Linked DNA regions of Homo sapiens: region 2 is linked to region 1. Evidence: promoter capture Hi-C in 16 types of primary human blood cells and fetal thymus (Javierre and others, 2016). All regions are on one chromosome and are shown on one strand. The core of a region is centred on a gene start or on the middle of the fragment in contact, and the rest is flanking DNA. Distances in the headings are between cores, read along the strand shown.

Region 1 (2,907 bases), core at 17-2,516:
CTCTTGGGGAGATGTGAAATCACTGAAGAGAGGAATAGATAAGGGAGGAAACAATCAGAGGAGTGAAAGCAACTTCGGGCAACACACAGGTGAAAGATGAAATGGTGTTTTATCTGAGGGAGCCAAAAAGAGAGGCTCTGAGTAAAATCTTGAAGGATATATATGGAGATTAGGACGTGGGAGCGAAGGGGTATGAAAAGAGACATGACCTCCTCCATAATACTTATTTTGAAACCGTCAGGATTTCCTTAGCTTGTGCTGTATCAGTAGATCATCATTCAGATACTGATCCTTAGCACAGTAACGCTGAGGGACCTTTGTCCTGTTCTCTCATTTTACAGAGAAGGAAGCAGGCAAAACTATGTATTGTCTATTTTATGTAATTATGTTTGCTTCCCAGATAAACTACACAGAAGGAAGCAGGCAAAACTGACTATGTATTGTCTACTTTATGTAATTATGTTTGCTTCCCAGATAAACTATTTTTTGCTAAAGGGCAAGAACAATATTCACTACTTCTGCAGTATCTCCTCCTCTCCTCCATCAGGGCCCAGTTCGTGCCATAAGTAGATGGACCAGAACAGTGTTCAAACAGTAAATGAAGTAAAAACTCATTGGCCAGGAACCGTGACACGCGTCTTTAGTCCAAGCTACTCAGGAGGCTGAGGCAGGAGGATCCCTTGAGCCTGCAGGAGTTCGAGACCAGACTGGGCAACGTAGCGAGTCCTTGTCTCAAAGAAAAAAAAAACAAAACCTCATTAGTTTCCTCTGTGGATGGAATGAGGCGAGATTTTTGAGGCCTTTTAATTACCTCCTAGTTTCTGCCTCAGTAATTTTCAAACAGGATCTTGAATAAGATGGGAGTGCTACCACGTCTGACCAGGGGTGTAACTTCCGCAGAACCCTGAGTCCAGGCCTAAGTGGCTAGGCGGACTCCAACTCCCCTCAAAGTGAGCTCCCCGGACCGAAATGAGTCAGCCAGGTCCACCGCCAGCCCAGGTAGTGGGCCCGGACTCCGACCCCCGCGGGTCCCCGAGCCCCGCGGTTCCGGGCACCGTGGTGTGCGCCCGGGGCGTGTTTCAGCTCTTGGTCCGCTCCCCCTCGCCCTCCTCCCGGAACCACGCCCGCTCCTCGCGCACGCAGCCCGTCGGCCCTGCAGCGTCGTAGGACAGGGCGGGACTGGGGTGGGAGGCCGTTGGTTGGCTGGCGGGCTGCGGAAGGCGGGGCTCGTGTGCGCACCAGCGCGTCCTCGCTCAGCGTTGCTCCTGCGCGCGCAGCTGGTCGGCCCGCGGCGGTGCTGCGCGGATCCGGCGTCGGGGCCCGGCATGGCGGGGGCCGGGGCCAAGCCGGGCCGGACCCGGACCTAAATGCCTCTGTTCTTCTCCGCGCTGTTGGTCTTGCTGCTAGTTGCGCTTAGCGCCCTCTTTCTAGGCCGGTGAGGGTTCCCGGCCGCGCCGGCGGCGGCGGCGGCGGCGGGAGGGAGGGGGCGGAGAGGAGGAAGAAAGACTGAGGAGGGGGCGCGCGCCTTACTGAGGCGCGTGAGGCAGAGTGGGTAGGGTGGAGGGAGGGGGCGCGCGGCGAGGGGAGGGATCGTGAGGAGGCGCGTGGCCCGAGCTCCCAGGGATGGGCTGCGAGTTGGGGAGACTGAGGAAGCGGGCGGGGTCTGAGGAAATGCTGAGGCCAGGAACTGAATAGGAGTGTGAGGAAGGGGCCTGGTTCAGTGGCTTCCCTTTCCCCCTCCACCCACCCCTGCATGTCCCTTTCGCCAAGCGCGATGGGCACCTGCAGCATCGGTCTGGGGAGAACAGCATTCGAGCTGCCGGGTCTGACCTCAAAGTGCCTTCTCGTGGATACCTGTCTGGAGGGTGGGAGCAGGAGACAGACAGACCCTCTGGGGAGTGTGATGGCACATGTGACAGAGCCGCCTCCGCTTTGACTCTTGCTGGGGTCTTCTCTCTCTGCCTCTGGGATTCATAACAATTTGAGGGATTTTGTTTTTGTCTTCAACTTAGAGGGTGCAGTTTCTGGTTTCATCTGGGTGGAGGGGTCAGTCGGGAGCTAGGATCTTGATCAGCGTGGCTGAATGTATATGACAGAGTGGTGCTTTGGAAGAAAGGAGAGTTGCTCAGATCCAGTTTCAGGAACGACCTTTTGCAAGGCTTTGAAAGACCAGCAAGGGGTGAGGGAAACCATCATTGGAAAAAGGTCCTATGAATTAACAGGAATTTTTCTGCAGGTGGCTTGTGGTCCGGTTGGCCACCAAGTGGTGTCAGCGGAAGCTGCAGGCGGAGCTAAAGATTGGCTCCTTCCGCTTTTTTTGGATCCAGAATGTCAGTCTTAAGTTTCAGCAACACCAGCAAACAGTGGTGAGTTCTGGGAAACTCTGGATATGTGTGTAGGGTTGATCCAATTGAATTTAAACTCTTAATTTCCTTTTTTTAAAAATAGAAATCCTGGTGGCTTTTCTAGTTAATCCCAGCCTTGCCATTTCTTTGCCAAGATGATCTTAGAGCTAGTTGGAGAACGCTGCAAGTTGTTCAGTTAAAAATGTTTGTAGGACACAGAGTGTCCAGGGCACATAACAAAGATACAGAAGAAAGATAACAGGAAATCGAAGATTTTACTGTTCTAATTTAAGATGGGATTCAAGGCAACATGGCTATGAAAGAGAAATTCTAATAATCCAGAACATTTCCTGGCTTGTCAAGCTGCTCGTGGCTTATTTAGCAGCTAGCACACAGAGCTTTCTCCCTCACTGTTTTAGGAAATTGATAACCTGTGGATTTCCAGCAAACTCCTTAGCCATGATCTTCCGTGAGTACCCTATATTCTCACTTCTCCCCTAGAAGAGTACTTTGGAGTTGGTGTTTGCAGAGTGACACTCTTCTGCAGAGGCATCACAATCCA
Region 2 (2,700 bases), core at 53-2,552, 51 kb after region 1:
TTCATACATCTCTTTATGTGTGTCTATTTTGTATATATGCACACACACACACACACACTCATCTTTATATTGTCTTTTTTTTTTTTTTTTTGAGAAGGAGTCTTGTTGTATCGCCCAGATTGGAGTGCAGTGCCGCGATCTTGGCTCACTGCAACCTCTGCTTCCCAGATTCAAGCGATTCTCCTGCCTCAGCCTCCCGAGTAGCTGGGACTACAGGCACCCGCCACCATGCCCAGCTAATTTTTGTATTTTGAGTAGAGATGGGGTTTCACCATGTTGGCCCAGCTGCACTCGAACTCCTGACCTTGTGATCTGACCGCCTCAGCCTCCCAAAGTGCTGGGATTACAGGTGTAAGCCACCATGCCCTGTCTTTTTTATTTTTTTTTTTGAGACAGGGTCTTGCTCTGTTACCCAGGCTAGAGTGCAGTGGTGTGATCTTGGCTTATTGCAACCTTGAACTCCTGAGCTCTAGCAGTCCTCCCACCTCAGCCTCCTGAATAGCTGGGACTACAGGTGTGAGCCATCATACCTTTTAATAATTTCAAAATTAAAGTAAGATACATGAAATTACAATAAAACATAACAGCATAACAAATTACTATAAAGTACACATCCATGTAACTAATACCCAGGTCAGTAAGTAGGACAGTACCAGAATATCAGAAGCCCTTTTTAACCTAACCTTGGTTTTGTTTCATCCACTAATATAAATGAGAAATTTCATATGTTTGATTATTATTATTATTATTTTTTGAGACGGAGTCTCGCTCTGTTGCCCAGGCTGGAGTGCAGTGTCACGATCTTGGCTCACTGCAAGCTCCACCTCCCGGGTTCACGCCATTCTCCTGCCTCAGCCTCCCAAATAGCTGGGACTACAGGTGCCCGCCACCACAGCCAGCTAATTTTTTGTATTTTTAGTAGAGACGGGGTTTCATCGTGTTAGCCAGGATGGTCTCGATCTCCTGACCTCGTGATCCGCCCGCCTCAGCCTCCCAAAGTGCTGGGATTACAGGCGTGAGCCACTGCGCCCGGTCTGTTTGATTATTTTTTTAATAAATAATTGGACTTTCTATCTAAAGCTTCCAGAATAGTTTTTTCTTCATTGTAGCACAGAAATTTTATAATTATGTGTCTAGCATGTATCTTTTCTAGTCAGTCCTGCTTAGAAACTGGTGAGCCATTTTAATGTGCAAACTCAGGTCTTTCATTAGGGTAGTTTTCTTCTAATATTTGTTAATCAGCGCCTCATGTATATATGTTCTCTTCTGGAATTTCTTTTATTTAACTGTTAGGTATCCTGGGTTTATCTTCTAATTCTCTTAGCTTTTTCTTCAGATTTACATTTCTTTATATTTTTATCTTTGCTTTAAGATATTTCTTCCACTTGTCCAGGCCAGTAATTCTAGTTTCAACTCTAATAATTTACTCTTTCAATTCATTTTACTGACATTTTTTATTTAAAATAATATTTATTATTTCTAAAATGTCTTTGTGTGTGTATTTATGTTGTAGTTAAAGCTTAAGTACTCGTTTTTTTTGTTGTTGTTCAGATTATCATCTGTGTCTTCCAGCAGCTCTGTTTTGTTAGGGTCTACCTTTTTTATTTATTTATTTATTTTTTTTTGAGACAGGGTTTTGCTCTGTCACCCAGGCTGGAGTGCAGTGGCACGATTTTGGCTCACTGCAACCTCTGCCCCCTGAGCTTCAGTGATCCTCCCACCTCAGCTTCCTGAGTAGCTGGGACTACAGGCACACATCAGCACCACCATGCCCGGCTAATGTTTGTATTTTTAGTAGAGATGAGGTTTGAACTCAAGCGATCCACCTGCTTGTGGCCTCCCAAATGCTGAGATTACAGGCGTGAGCCACTGCGCCCAGCCGAGAGGGAGAAGAACTTGTACCAACTCTAGATTCTGACAGAGCTTAAGCCTTCACTCACACCCTATGGACCCCTCCTATCTGTTCATCTAGAAGTGCGTTAGAGTTCAGAATGGAGATGAGTGGGGTCACTTTCAAGCTACCATCTGCCCACGATATGGATCTATATTCTCAGCCTGTTTATAATGTAGGCTGGTTCACTTGGAAGGACCCAAAATGGCTTAGCAGCTTTTCTTTCCCTACTATTGGGTCTCTATATGAGCAACAAAGATTAGCCAAGTTCTTACCTAAGCAGAGGTAGTAAGAATTCTTTTCTTTTTTGAGTGCACTATCTTGCACCTGTAATTGTATGTCGGGAACTGAATTGACTGCCTTAGACAACTACTTTTGTTTCCTTTGGCAGGAAGGCAGCAACAACTCATCTCCAGTGGATTTTGTAAATAACAAGAGGACAGACTTATCTTCAGAACATTTCAGTCATTCCTCAAAGTGGCTAGAAACTTGTCAGCATGAATCAGATGAGCAGCCTCTAGATCCAATTCCCCAAATTAGCTCTACTCCTAAAACGTCTGAGGAAGCAGTAGACCCACTGGGCAATTATATGGTTAAAACCATCGTCCTTGTACCATCTCCACTGGGGCAGCAACAAGACATGATATTTGAGGCCCGTTTAGATACCATGGCAGAGACAAACAGCATATCTTTAAATGGACCTTTGAGAACAGACGATCTGGTGAGAGAGGAGGTGGCACCCTGCATGGGAGACAGGTTTTCAGAAGTTGCTGCTGTATCTGAGAAACCTATCTTTCAGGAATCTCCGT

Evidence for each region. Contacts are between HindIII fragments. The CHiCAGO score rates a contact against its expected background, and 5 or more counts as called.
Region 2: a contact is called between a fragment that was not itself captured here and the fragment with the promoter of BLTP2 in region 1, in 1 of 17 cell types (M1 macrophages). The highest score is 5.6, in M1 macrophages.

The regions. Positions count from the first base shown.
Region 1 is chr17:28,643,517-28,646,423 of GRCh38, reverse strand. It overlaps BLTP2 (bridge-like lipid transfer protein family member 2), which reads left to right and starts at 1,266. Exons shown (of 39, transcript NM_014680.5): 1 at 1,266-1,435; 2 at 2,237-2,366; 3 at 2,765-2,814. The coding sequence starts at 1,368. RefSeq lists silencers at 880-1,109, 1,130-1,469. The HindIII fragment of the contact is 8,883 bases long and covers 1-2,907 here.
Region 2 is chr17:28,592,649-28,595,348 of GRCh38, reverse strand. It overlaps SPAG5 (sperm associated antigen 5), which reads left to right. Exons shown (of 24, transcript NM_006461.4): 3 at 2,283-2,700. Among named protein-coding and RNA genes, the nearest start is that of SPAG5, 5.0 kb to the left of the region's middle. The HindIII fragment of the contact is 439 bases long and covers 1,083-1,521 here.